Regions from separate parts of the Homo sapiens genome. Here regions 2, 3, 4 and 5 are each linked to region 1. The links are contacts of gene promoters, found by promoter capture Hi-C in blood cells and fetal thymus (Javierre and others, 2016). All regions are on one chromosome and are shown on one strand. The core of a region is centred on a gene start or on the middle of the fragment in contact, and the rest is flanking DNA. Distances in the headings are between cores, read along the strand shown.

What was found. The method cuts DNA at HindIII sites, captures the fragments that hold promoters and counts their contacts. A CHiCAGO score of 5 or more calls a contact.
Region 2: a contact is called between a fragment that was not itself captured here and the fragment with the promoter of OR2B2 in region 1, in 1 of 17 cell types (monocytes). The highest score is 5.7, in monocytes.
Region 3: a contact is called between the fragment with the promoter of POM121L2 here and the fragment with the promoter of OR2B2 in region 1, in 3 of 17 cell types (naive CD8 T cells, non-activated CD4 T cells and activated CD4 T cells). The highest score is 7.3, in naive CD8 T cells.
Region 4: a contact is called between the fragment with the promoter of PRSS16 here and the fragment with the promoter of OR2B2 in region 1, in 14 of 17 cell types (total CD8 T cells, naive CD8 T cells, naive CD4 T cells and 11 more). The highest score is 14.1, in total CD8 T cells.
Region 5: a contact is called between a fragment that was not itself captured here and the fragment with the promoter of OR2B2 in region 1, in 1 of 17 cell types (total CD4 T cells). The highest score is 6.4, in total CD4 T cells.

The regions. Positions count from the first base shown.
Region 1 is chr6:27,911,125-27,913,824 of GRCh38, forward strand. OR2B2 (olfactory receptor family 2 subfamily B member 2) reads right to left here and starts at 1,272. Exons shown (of 1, transcript NM_033057.2): 1 at 61-1,272. The coding sequence starts at 1,195. The coding sequence ends at 122. The HindIII fragment of the contact is 2,345 bases long and covers 232-2,576 here.
Region 2 is chr6:27,120,307-27,123,006 of GRCh38, forward strand. No RefSeq gene overlaps it. Among named protein-coding and RNA genes, the nearest start is that of H2BC11, 11 kb to the right of the region's middle. The HindIII fragment of the contact is 5,298 bases long and covers 1-2,700 here.
Region 3 is chr6:27,310,982-27,313,681 of GRCh38, forward strand. It overlaps POM121L2 (POM121 transmembrane nucleoporin like 2), which reads right to left and starts at 1,292. Exons shown (of 1, transcript NM_033482.4): 1 at 1-1,292. The coding sequence starts at 1,189. It overlaps LOC105375107, which reads left to right and starts at 1,188. Exons shown (of 3, transcript XM_011515048.2): 1 at 1,188-1,211; 2 at 1,342-1,633; 3 at 1,864-2,700. The coding sequence starts at 1,188. The coding sequence ends at 2,231. RefSeq lists a silencer at 1,349-1,643. The HindIII fragment of the contact is 14,547 bases long and covers 1-2,700 here.
Region 4 is chr6:27,246,382-27,249,081 of GRCh38, forward strand. PRSS16 (serine protease 16) reads left to right here and starts at 1,320. Exons shown (of 12, transcript NM_005865.4): 1 at 1,320-1,426; 2 at 1,501-1,667; 3 at 2,466-2,565. The coding sequence starts at 1,357. The HindIII fragment of the contact is 3,507 bases long and covers 1-2,700 here.
Region 5 is chr6:27,200,425-27,203,124 of GRCh38, forward strand. No RefSeq gene overlaps it. Among named protein-coding and RNA genes, the nearest start is that of TRV-CAC6-1, 4.4 kb to the right of the region's middle. The HindIII fragment of the contact is 4,360 bases long and covers 1-2,700 here.

The DNA.
Region 1 (2,700 bases), core at 22-2,521:
GATGTAAAGTGTGACAACCCTTGAAAATGTTGTGATTACAGTTTTTGGTGCATTGGAAGGCCAATTCTGGGGGCTTGTTCAATGAAAATGTTTAGGCAACAGAAACAAATATAGCTTTTTGTCAAGGAAATTTTCTTTGAGGGAGATTACAATAGTTTTCTATAGTAATGACAAAAATAGGACAACTTGCGGAGAAGTTAGTAAGGTAAGTAAGCACTGTGTCTTTAGCAAAGCTTATCATTTGCATATTTCTTATTTCTTGATTAAGAAGACTCTTTGCAACCAACCTTTTAAAGGCTTCCTTTACCTCTTTGTTCCTAAGTGTATATATAAGGGGATTCAGCATGGGTGCAATGATTCCACAGAAGAGAGAAACCATCTTTCCCCGGTCTTTGGAGCTGGGTGAAGGTGGTTGCAGGTACATGGAGATAGCTGTACCATAAAAAAGTGACACCACAATTAGATGGGAGCCACATGTCCCAAATGCCTTTCGTTGACCTTCAGCAGACTGGATTCTCAACACTGCTTGGACAATAAAAGCATACGATATAAGGATGAGTGTCACGGGTATTAGAAGGAATAGCACACTGATGAAGAATAGTTCAGCCTCATTTGCTGTTGTGTCAACACAGGACAACTTGAGCAGAGCAGGGACTTCACAGAAGAAGTGATCCACTTCTTTGTGACCACACAGTGGCATCTTAAGTGTCCAGGTGGACTGTAATACTGAATTGCTAAAGCCACTAATCCAGGATGCAGCTGCCAACTGGAAGCAGAGCCTCTGGTGCATGATAATTGAGTAATGGAGAGGCCGACAAATAGCTACAAACCTATCAAAGCACATGACGGCCAGGAGAAGACATTCTGTGGAACCCAAGGCCAGGAAAATGAAAAGCTGGGCCACACAGCCACCATAACTGATTACTTTCCTGGTGTTGCATATGTTTACCAGCATTTGTGGAACTGTACTTGTGGTATAGCAAAGGTCCAGGAGTGAGAGATTGCTAAGAAAAAAGTACATAGGGGTGTGGAGTTTGAAATCCACATGTGACACAAGAATTATTGTCAGATTGCCAAAGATTGTCAAGATATAGGAAAACAGAAACATCACAAAGGGTGGAATCTCTAGCCATGGTTGATCTGAGAAAACTAACAGAATGAACTCCTGTGGGACACTCTTATTTACCCAATTCATGTTAAATGGTTCAACTCTTCGTTCTCTGAAATATAAGAAGTCAGGAAGTTAACAACACACTTCCTGATTTTGTCAGCTATAATCATTTTGCTATCAATTTACATAAAATTACAGACTGATCCAATTAATAATGTGAAAAAAGTATTGATAAAAATATAAATATTTATCCATCCAAGTATTTAAAAAGTGTTTATATATCTGTAACAGCATATTAGCAAATTGAATCGAATTTCAAGAATCTTTTTTTTTTTTTTTTTTTTTTTTTTTGAGGCAGAGTTTCACTCTTTTGCCCAGGCTGGAGTGCAATGGCGCCATCTCGGCTCACCGCAACCTCCGCCTCCCAGGTTCAAGCAATTCTCCTGCCTCAGCCTCCCCAGTAGGTGGGATCACAGGCATGTGCCACCACCCCGACTAATTTTGTATTTTTAGTAGCGATGGGGTTTCTCCACGTTGGTCAGGTTGGTCTCAAACCCCAACCTCAGGTGATCTGCCCACCTCAGCCTCCCAAAGTGCTGGGATTACAGGCGTGAGCCACTGTGCCCAGCCTAATTTCAAAAATCTTAAGCCATATTTTCAGTTTCCAAATTCACATAATGTATCCTTTGATATTTTACTGTTTGTAAATGTATTTTTCTCATTCTTCCTACCTAGATATCTACTGTGAGGTAGATGTAGATACAGTTTCCTGTCATTTGAATTCATTCTAATTTCTCTTCAAGGCCAGCGAGATTCCCTGATTGTAGAAATCAGTTAACATTAGTTAAAGCCACCTCCCATTATTCCCCTTCCCTCAAAAAAGCCATGTAGACAGTATCTAGTAAGTTATCAGACACAATTTAAGGAGACATATCCTTTTCGTTCTAGAAGCTCATAGAATTTGTATAGATTCCTTAGTAATATGATATTTGAAGGTGACAGGCTGGTCTCATATCCCTACCCTCTCTAATTAGTTACATTCATTATATTGGAATGCTTCTAACCCTTTGATCTCCACAATTCTCATTTGTAAAATGAAGATGATACAGTGGTTCCCCCTTTATCCATGGGGGATACATTCCAAGACCACCAGTGGATAGAAACCTGAAACTGTGGGTAGTACCAAACCCTATATATACTATGTTTTTTAATACATACACAACTATAACGTTTAATTTATAAATTAGGCACAGTAAGAGATTAAGAACAATAATTAATAAAATGCAGCAAGTATAACAGCTCCAGACCCCCATTTATTGTAATACATGTTATGTGAATGTGGTGTCCCTCTCTTTTTTTCTCTTCAAAACACCTTATTCTAGTGTACTCACCCCTCTGTGTTCTGACGATCTGATAACCGAGATGGCTACTCAGTGACTAACAGGCAGGTGGATGCTTTAAATCAAGCTTGTCCAACCTGAGGCCCACGGGCTGCATGCAGCCCAGGATGGCTTTGAACGCAGCCCAGGATGGCTTTGAACGTGGCCTAACACAAATTTGTAAACTTTCTTAAAACATCATGACATTCA
Region 2 (2,700 bases), core at 67-2,566, 790 kb before region 1:
TTCTTTTTACATATTACTGAATTTGAATTTTCTAAAATTTTGTTTAGAACCTTTGTATCTCTGTTCATGAAGGATATTGGTCAATAAGTTTCTTTGTTTATATTTGTCCAGTTCTAGTATCAAGATGATGTTGCCCTATGGAACGAATTAAGTTAACCAATATTTTAAGAAGCCAGATAGTAAATATTTTAGGCTGTGCAGACAATAAGGTCTCTGTCACAACAACTCAACTTTGCTGTTCTGGTGGGAAAGTAGACATAGATAATACACAAATAAGTGAATGTGGTTGTGTTCCAATAACACTTTTTTTGAAAATCAGGTGGTGGGTCATATTTGGTCTGTGGGCCATAGTTTGTTGACCTCTGAGTTAGGAAGTATTTCTTCCTGATTCTAACACTTCTATGAAAATGAAAAGCCAATTATAAAGAAGAACACAGTTGGAGAACTTACACTATAAGTTGCCAACCCCTATCTTAAACTATGGTAATGAGAATGATTGCTATTGAGCCAGAAACATGTGTGTAGTCACCTGATTCATGAGAAAGGTAACACTGCAGTGCAAGGGTTGTCTTTTCAACAAATTACGTTAGTTAGGTCAATGATATGTCCATATGGAAAAGTCCATATGGAAAAAATTGTTACAAATCGATAAGTACAAATAATTTAAAAATGGGCAAAGACATGAACATTCTCTTCCACTAAATGACATTCAATGTATATGAAGCATATGAATAGGTACACAATATTATGACTCATCAGGAAACTGAAAATGAAAGCAACAGTGAGATATCACTAACACATCCTATTCAGAAAGGCAAAACTTAAAGCCTAACAAGATAAAGGCAAAAATTTGAAGCAATTAAAATCATCTTATATTATAGGAGTTTGAATTGGTTTATACATTTTAGAAAAATATTTGTCAGTGTTTACTAAACCTAAATATATGGTTACCTTAAAAACTGTTAATTCCATTCCTATTATATGCTCAAAAGAAATGAGCACAGGCTGGGCGCAGTAGCTTATGCCTGTAATCCCAGCACTTTGGGAGGCCGAGGCGGGTGGATCACAAGGTCAGGAGATCAAGACAATCCTGGCTAACATAGTGAAACCCTATCTCTACTAAAAATACAAAAAATTAACCGGGCATGGTGGCACCCACCTGCAGTCCCAGCTACTCGGGAGGCTGAGGCAGGAGAATCACTTGAACCTGTGAGGCGGAGGTTGCAGTAAGCCGAGATTGTGCCACTGCACTCCAGCCTGGATGACAAACTGAGAATCCGTCTCAACAAAAGAAATGGGCACATATGTACACCAAAAAACATACACAAAAATATTCATAAAACTTATATTCATAATAGGGAAAAAGATAAGCTAAAAGCAACTGAAAAGTAACCAAGGCCATTACATTTTAAATTATTAACATTTCCTGAAATTGTCTTCTAAAACAATGTCTTCTTTTAATTCTTAAAAGTACAGATGAACACTTTAGTCCTAATGACATCATCATTTACAGAACATGGTGAGTTAACCAAATATTTTACCATGTATGTATAAATCTCAATAAAACAAAGAAGTTTTAGAATTCAAATCTATAAACTTTAAAGTATTGACTTTGTAACATGATTAATTTAAAAGTAAATTAAAATAAATGAGTTTGTGCCTGGCATCGTGGCTCACGTCTATATTCCCAGCATTTGGGAGGCTGAGATGGGCAGATCACCTGAGTTTGAGTTCGAAACCAGCCTCAACAACATGGAAAAACCCTGTCTTTACCAAAAAAAAAAAAAAAAAGAAAAAAAAATTGGCCAGGTATAGTCCCAGGTACTTGGGAGGCTGAGGTGGGAGGATCACTTGAGCCTGGGAGGCAGAGATTTCAGTGAGCCAAGAATGCATCATTGCACTCCAGCCTGAGCAACAGAGCCAGACCCTGCCTCAAAAAGAAAATATATATGTATATTAGTTTGATAAACTCCAATATAACTTTTTTACATAAAATTGATTTTTTAAGTTTATAAATATAAATATTTAAATATGATATTTAAATCCAATTTTGCTGGAAAGCCTAAACACAATGTGGAAGCTATTGACTTGTCCCATTATCAATCTTACATACTATTATAAAATAAATGATATACCATTATAGCTTCTCCCAACTATCCAAATGCTTATGGGTTAGGTGTGAAACCTACAAGATGAAGCAAATGAGGCTTTATCTAGGGGTGACAGTTTTATGGAAAGAAATGAGTATCAGGGAAGGCTACACAATGCAAAAACAAAATTCTGTGAGGACTTGAACCCAAGGCATTTTGCTTACCAGACAAGTAAGTTGAATGACAAAGCAACAATTCCCTGTCATAAAAGTTAATTTATTTGCTATTACAGTATAGACATTTTAAAACACACCAGAAGAATTTTAGAGTTTGAAAATGACAAGTTGCATTTTGTTTTGAGCAGGAAACATATCAAGACAAACTTCCTTCATACTAGACAGTATTGTAATCCCAGCGACTCAGGAGGCCCAAGCAGGAGGACCACTTCAGGCCAGGAATTTGAGATTAGCCTAGGAAACATAGCGAGACCTCGTCTCTAAGAAAATAAATTAGTCATTGTAGTAGCACACACCTGTAGTTCTAGCTACTTGGAAGGCTGAGGTAGGAGGATGACTTGAGCCCAGGAGTTTGAGGCTGCAGTGAACCATGA
Region 3 (2,700 bases), core at 42-2,541, 600 kb before region 1:
GATCTGTTTCTGAAGAAGGCAGAGCAAGAGACAAGGAAGGCTGAATAGCAAGCCAAGTCTCAGGGAAAGGGTCTGTGTTGACCTCAGTTGTATCTTCTCCTGCGTTGTTGCTTACCTGTAGCTCAGCTTTCTTCCCCAAAGTCAAGTTCTCATCAGAGACTGCATAACCAAGCTGGGGAGGTGGGATCTCTGACACCAGGTTCTCAGGGCTAGACGGCAGCTGTGGAATCTTCTGGTTTTGCTGCCCAGAACTTTCAGATCCTCCTAGGGACTCAAAATCTGATACCAGTGGGACTGGAGAGGAAGGCCGATGACAACTTTTTTCCTTTTTTATTGGCCACTCTGGTGTCTCGAATGATACACTGGGAACACTTCTCTTCCAAGGGTCTGAGAAATTTCTGCAAGAGCTGTAAGAGCTGCCAATAGCATTCCTTTTGGAGCTGAGGGTGCCACCTCTGTATATGCTGGCCAAGGAGCTCATGGAGGAGCAATTGGGCCTCTTAGTCAAGCTGTGATCTGAGCCCCAGGAGTGGAGACTTCTCTTCAGCGGCCCAGGCCTGGGCACAAAAGAAGTGAGGGTTCCATTTTTCATCAGGGGCTTAAATGCCGATGGTCTGGTCTCTGGACTCCTTCTCTTACTGTCCAGACTCTCAGGGAATAGTGGTTCTTCCAACCTCCCTTTCCCTTTTCTGCACTCTCTGAGGGCCCTCAACACTGTCTCCTTTGAACATGGATCTGCGAGCTCCTCAGAGGGCGGGAGTCCTGCAAGGGCAATTACATCTTCAGGAGAAGTGGAAGGGGGCACTCTCTGGTCAGGAGGAGTGATCCTGATGGTCACTGGGCTCCAAATTGGCCTGGGATGTCGAAGAGACCAAATAGTCCGCTTTAAGTAACTTTCCCACCAGTCTGAAGGGAGAGGCCCCAGGGGGGAATTCTGGGACTTCTTCATGGGAAAGCGCCTCCAGGCCTCGTTGGCCAGCCACGTGGTTGGATTGGCAGGATCCAGGTTTGGCCGCCTCCTCACAGGTCTATACCGTGGGGCAGGGTGGGCGCGGTGGACGAACTGAACCCGATGAACTTGGTGAAGGGGCTGAGGTGGCCGGCGTTTCGTGGGCCTCTCGGGCAAGTCGGTGCGCACCTGGGCTGGGGACGAGGGCGAAAGTTCCAGTTTGCTCAGGAAACTGCCCATGAGGAGAGATGAGGCGCGGGCAGTGAGTTCAAGCACGGTTTTGGCTTCCGAGGTTTCGGACGTCTGCAGAATCGGACAGAGTCGAAGAGCGCAGTGTTCGGTTGACGGTTGGGATTCACGCGCTAGGAAAGCGCGAGTCTCAGGGTGCTTAGCACTCTCCAGGCCCGGCACCCGCGGGAACGGGGGACACGCGGGACTTCGGCAGTCCCAGTAACTTGCTTTGCTGTTCTGAGACCTCAGCGGGGCGGTCAGACCTCTGCTGTCTCCGCAGCGAGTTGCAGTACTTGGCGCGGGGAGAGGAACTCGAGAGGAAGCTCACTGCGCCTCGCCCCTGGCGTCGGCAGCGGCTGTCTGGGACCCTGTGGTCCGGATTCACCAAGTGGCGCAGAGCTGGAATCGAGTGGGTGCACAGTTTCCAGGCTCCGACTATTACTGGCCTCGAAGGTACAGGCTCAGGCGGCTCAGGGCCCCGGCGCAGATCTGTCGGCCCGCGGGATCCCCGGAGTCTGAGTGGGGAGCACTATCCGCACCCCGTAGAGTGAGTGCGGGCGGCTTTCGCAGGTGCTCAGGACTGGAGATCTGGACCGGTGGCTGTGCCGCCCGGATGGCATTTGTGGCACTAGCAGTCGGGAAAGCAGCTGATTGAGGATTTCCGCGTTTCTCTTTTTTTGCAGATCGTGACGCCGCCAGTAGGTGTCAGTCATTTGCCGCACAGCCACCTTTGAGATCCACCTGTGTCTCCCAGCGGCCGAATCCAGGTTTCCTTCCTATTCGCACTTGGAGAACTCATGCAGATTGCCGTCAGGAGTGGCCTCAGAGATCCGGAGTGGGCGAATGGGAAATCGCATCTTACGGCCCAGAACCTGAGCCCTCCACAAGCACTTGGCTCAGTCCCTTGCTCAGGCCACCTCCTGTTCTCTTCTGCTCTGTGAAAGACACTGTTAAGAGAATGAAAAGACACGCCACAGACTGGAGAAAATATTTGCATAATACGTATGTATCTGCTGAAGCACTGGTATACAAAATATACATAGAATGTTAAAACTCATAATAAGGTAAAAAATTAATGGGCAAAATATTTAAACAGAAACCCCGCCAAAGAAGATATGCAGATGGTAAACAGTATAAAAAGATGCCAAACATCATTGACATATGCTATATGTCAATATTTAGCTATATATAACTAAACATCAGTAAATACTTCTGATTGCAATTTAAACATCAGTAAGATACCATAATTGCAAATTAAACATCAGTAAGATATTACTACACACCATTCAATTGGCTAAAATTCAAAACACCACATGCTAAGGAGGAGGTGGAGTAACAGGTACTCTCATTCATTACTGATGAGAATGCAAAATGGTACAGCCACTTTGGAGGACAGTATGGCAATTTCTTACAAAGCTAAAACACAGTCCTACAATACAATTCAACCACCACAATCCACGTGTTTATCCAAATGAGCTTAAAGTGAATGTCCACATAAGGACCTGCATGTGAATGTTTAT
Region 4 (2,700 bases), core at 70-2,569, 660 kb before region 1:
CTTGCAGATATTTGGAGGAAAAGCATCCTAAGGAGAGCAAAAATTCTAAGGAAGGAGTGAGTCTTGTGAAATATGAAATAGTCCAATGCAGTTGGAGCAGTGAACCCAGGAGGGGTAGGAGATGAAATCATGACAGTATATACAACAGGGGGCCAGGTCATACAGAGTTTTAAAAACTGTTTTCAAAACTTTAGATTTACTTTGAGTAAGATGGGGCATCAGGGAAGTGTTCTAAACCAGGGAGTGAATGATTGTGAATGATTGGGCTAATATTTAATTCTGTCTCTCTGTCTGCTGAGTGTAGAATAAATCATGAGGCAGAAACAGGGTGACCAGCTAAAAGCCTTCCATGATATCCCAAGTCAGAGATGATGGTGGCTCAGCAGTGGTAGCACTGAAGGTAGTGAGAAGTCATCAGATTCTGGATATATTTTTTAAATTTATGGGAATAACTTTTTAAATGTACAATATTTCTCATAGTGATAAGTCCCATGAAAAAGAATTAGGAATAAAGTTTGAAAAGGAATAGAAGAGGGCCATAGGTTTGGCAATTTTTAAAAAGCTGACCATGGAAGACCTTTCTGAATGAATGACCTTTGAATAAAGATCCAGTTGAAGTGAGGGAGCAAACCACGTGGGTATATAGGGAAATCACAATCCATAGGGTGGGAACAACAAGAATAAGAACCCTAAGGCAGAAGCAAGCCTGGTATGTTCAAAGAACTGTAAGGAGTCTATGGACAGTGTGAGATTGTGGGTCAGAGAAGCTCGGGACAGTGAAGCAGAGCAGAAAGTGAGGGGGCTGGAAAATAGACAAGGTGAGATTGGGGGACAAAGAGATGAGTATGGAGAGAAAGACTGAAAAAGAGATGGGGGACTGAGAAAAAAGAGACGGAAAGACTGAGTGTGGGAACAACTGAGGGGTACTGAAGATATGCTGAGGGGCAGAAAGAAAAGACTGAGAATAAGTGGGCAACTGGGGTTCCAGAGGAGGTGCTGAGGTGGGGAGAGACAGAGGTTGAAGGACAATAAGGCATGCAAAGGAGGAATCTGAGATAAAGAGAAGGTAGACCGAAGAGCGGAGAGGAGGAGACTGAGACAGCGAGGGCTACTGAGAGCTGAGGGAAGAACAGACTGAGAGGCCCAGAGAGAAGAAACTGGGAGTTCCGATGCTGCATCAGCAGCCTCTGTGTACAGACTCTGGCGTCCCTGCCCCGCTTTAGCAGTTCCTACAGACGCTTGACCTGCCAGGAAAGGAAAGAAACCTGAGCCTCTGCTGAAAGGTGATGGATTTAAGGCCCGGCTGCTGAGGATAAGATAAAGGTCCTCCTGGGGGAGAACAGAGTCCCGAACACCATGGCCGTCTGGCTTGCCCAGTGGCTGGGCCCTCTGCTCTTGGTTTCCCTCTGGGGACTCTTGGCTCCAGGTAAGAGGAGGCTGAGGGTCAAGCAGGGCATCCTAAGGGGGCCAGCCTGACTTCCTTCCCTCCATGTCCCACAGCCTCCCTTCTTAGGCGCCTGGGTGAGCACATTCAGCAGTTTCAGGAGAGCTCTGCCCAGGGCCTGGGCCTGAGCCTGGGGCCAGGTGCTGCAGCCCTCCCAAAAGTGGGGTGGCTGGAGCAACTGCTGGACCCCTTCAACGTGTCCGACAGACGATCCTTCCTACAGGTGAGGCCGGGAGACGGGGAGTCCACTAACCATCCTGCCCTCTCCTCAGTCTCCCTCATCTCTTCCTCAGTCTGCACTTTTTTCTCTCTCCACACCTCAGTTCTCCCCATCCCTCTGCTTGAATCTCATGTTATGCTTGCTGTCAGTATCCCTTTTCCTGCCCTTTGTAGATTTGGCCTTACTCTCTCCTCTCCTCGGGGTCCCACTCGTTTTGTCCCTCAGATCTTGCCCTTCACCATTTCTTTCTCTCTGTCATTCACATTCACTGCTCCTCCCTACCCCCTTGTCCCTGTCCAGACTGGACACAAAACCTACCACCAGGTCTCAGTAGGTAGCAGAAATTTGAACCAGCTTTGGAATCAGACCTAGCTCACAACAGGCACTCAAAGATATCTATCGAAAGAAGGAACAAATTCGCCATTTTTCAGTGCTTCCTCTGTATTTAGTCTCCAAATATCATCCCACTTGGATCTTATTCCTAAATCCATCTGCATTTATTTCTTATTTTACAATTATTACTTCAAGAAATAGCAAGTTCCTTCAATGTGAGAGCCACTCCCTCAGTTCTGGGGATATAAGAGTGAAAAACCAGGTCAAAAATTTGCTTTTGTATATTTTGCATTCTAGATGAGGAGATGAACAGGGGAAAAGTGAGCAAGTAAATAAACAAGCTCATTTCAGACACTGTTAAGTACATAAGGAAAGATCCATTAGGAAGAGAGACTGGAACAAATGAGGAATTGAGAATAAGTCAGGACTCTCACAGTGCCATTTCTTCTTCCCCATCCCACCTCTCAGCGTTACTGGGTGAATGACCAACATTGGGTTGGCCAGGATGGACCCATATTCCTGCATCTAGGGGGTGAGGGCAGCCTTGGGCCTGGCTCAGTGATGAGAGGTAAGAGGCAATGTTGGGGGAAAGGAGTTGGGATGCTGGTGGGGACCAGGAAGGGGAGCTGCATATTGCAATGCTGTGAGACCTGAGGAGTGAAAGGGCTTAAACTCAACTTGCATCTCACCTCCCCACCCCCCA
Region 5 (2,700 bases), core at 1-2,500, 710 kb before region 1:
AATTTTTCTCCTCATCAATTAATATAATAATGTGATTTTCTTCCTTTGGTGTGACTATGGTACATTAATTACGTTGACTAATTTTCAAATGTTGAACAACCCTAGCATTCTTTTTTTTTTTTTTTTTTAGACGGAGTCTTGCTCTGTCATCCAGGCTGGAGTTCAAAGGCGAGATCTTTGCTCACTGCAACCTCAGCTTCCCAGGTTGAAGTGATTCTCGTACCTCAGCCTCCAGAGTAGCTGGAATTACAGGCACATGCCACCATGCCCGGCTAATGTTTTGCATTTTTAGTAGAAACAGGGTTTCCCAGCGTGGGCCAGGCTGGTCATAGAACTCCTGACCTCAAGTTATACTCCTGCCTTGGCCTCCCAGACCTCTGAAAGTGCTGGGATTACAAGTGTGAGCAACAACGCCTGGCCATGAACCACCCCTGCATTCTACTTGGTGATTATCTTGGTTTGCTAGGGCTACCATAGATGGGTGGACTTAAACAATGGAAATGTATTTTCTCGCAGCTGAGCCTAGAAATCCAAGAGCAAGGTGTCAGCCGGTTTGATTCCTTTTGAGGTAGCTCTCCTTGACTTGCAGAAGGCTGCCTTCTCGTTGTGTCCTCCCATGATTAACCACTCAGTCTGCGTGTTGCCTGTGTCCTAATCTCTTTTTTTTTTTGGAGACCGAGTGTCGCTCTGTCGCCCAGGCTGGAGTGCAGTGGTGCAATCTCGGCTCACTGCAACCTCTGCTTCCCGCTCAGCCTCCTACCTCCTGTCTCAGCCTCTCGAGTAGCTGGGATTACAGGCGTGTGCTAATTTTGTCAGGCCTGGCTGAATCTTGTATTTTTTTTTTAAAGTAAAGACAGAGTTTCGCCATTTTGGCCAGGCTGGTCTCGAACTACTGACCTCAGGTAGTCTGCCCGCCTCGGCCTTCCAAAGCGCTAGGATTACAGGCATGAGCCACTGCGCCCGGCCCCTAATCTCTTCTTATAAAGACACCAGTAATATTGTATTAGAGCTCATCCATATTCCCTCATTTTACTTTAATAACTTCTTTAAAGATCTTATCTCCACATATAGTCACATTCTAAGGAACTGGGAGTTAGGACTTCAGAATATACATTTTGGGAGAACACAATTCAGCCAATAACAGTCATAGTGTATAATTCTTTTTCTCTATTACTGTATTCTATTTGATAATATTGTGTTAAAAATTGTTGTATCTGTGTTGATGAGTTGTATTGGTCTGCAGTTTTCTTTTTTGTGCTGTCTTTGTCAGCCTTTATTTATTTATTTATTTTTTTGAGACGGAGTCTCTCTCTGTCACTCAGGCTGGAGTGCAGTGGCGCGATCTTGGCTCGCTGCAAGCTCCGCCTCCTGGGTTCACGCCATTCTCCTACCTCAGCCTCCCAAGTAGCTGGGACTACAGGCGCCCACCACCAAGCCCGGCTAATTTTTTTGTATTTTTATTAGAGAAGGGGTTTCACCATGTTAGCCAGAATGGTCTCCATCTCCTGACCTCGTGATCCGGCCGCCTCGGCCTCCCAAAGTGCTCGGATTACAGGCGTGACCCACCGCGCCTGGCCTATTTTTATTTTTTTGAGACAGAGTTTCGCTCGTGTTGCCCAGGCTGGAGTGCAATGGAAAGATCTCGGCTTGCTGCAACCTCCATTTCCTGGGTTCAAGCGATTCTCCTGCTCAGCCTCCCGAGGAGCTGGGATTAAAGGTGTCTGCCACCATGCCCAGCTAATTTTTGTATATTTAGCAGAGACGGGGTTTATCCATGTTGGCCAGGCTGGTCTCGAACTCCTAACCGCAGGTTATCAGCCCGCCTCGCCCTCCCAGAGTGCTGGCATTACAGGCGCGAGCCACCTAGCCTGGCCTTAAACAAGTTCTTATAAAAAGAGAGAGGAAAAGTCTCAGGATTCATACTCTTGGGATGTAAATAAATGTCTCCAGAGTGGAAGATAAGATAAGCATCTCCGTGTTTATAAGCCTTAAAATGTCTCCATGGTTCCAGGAGAGAGAAATTGTATTATCCTTCAAATGAGATAACACTTTTGAAATGTGAGAAGCAAATTGGTCTAGGGAAACCAGAACATTCACTAATGTGTCAATTTCCCTTGCCCAGAAAGCCAAACCATGCAGAACATGAAAATATTCACTTCCTGACAACACCTTTCAAAAAGAGAGATTTAAGGTAGTCTGATGTCTCATTCTATTTTCACTAATTCTTTAAATATGAAGACTTTTTCTTTTTTTCTTTTCTTCCTTTTTTTTTTTTTTTTTTTTTTCCAGATAGGGTCTTATTCTGTCACCCAGGCTGGAGTGCAGTGGAGTGATCTTGGCTCACTGCAACCTCCATCTCCCAGGTTTAAGTGCTCTTTCCTCCTCAGCCTCCCAAGTAGCTGGCACTACAGGAGTGCTCCACCACACTCAGCTAATTTTTTGTAGAGATAGGGTTTCACCATGTGGCCCAGGCTGGTGTTAAACTCCTGAGCTCAAACGATCTGCCGGCCTCGACTTCCAAAGCATGCTGGGATTATAGGTGTAAGCCACCATGCCCAGCCTTGAGGACATATTTTCAAATGTATTTTACATTTTACATTTGCCCAGTTTTCCAATTTTTAGGCAAAACATTTATCAAACAAAAGATGGCATCTTAAGCAGTTTTTTCTTTCTTATTTTATTGGTCCTTAAGGCTGATTA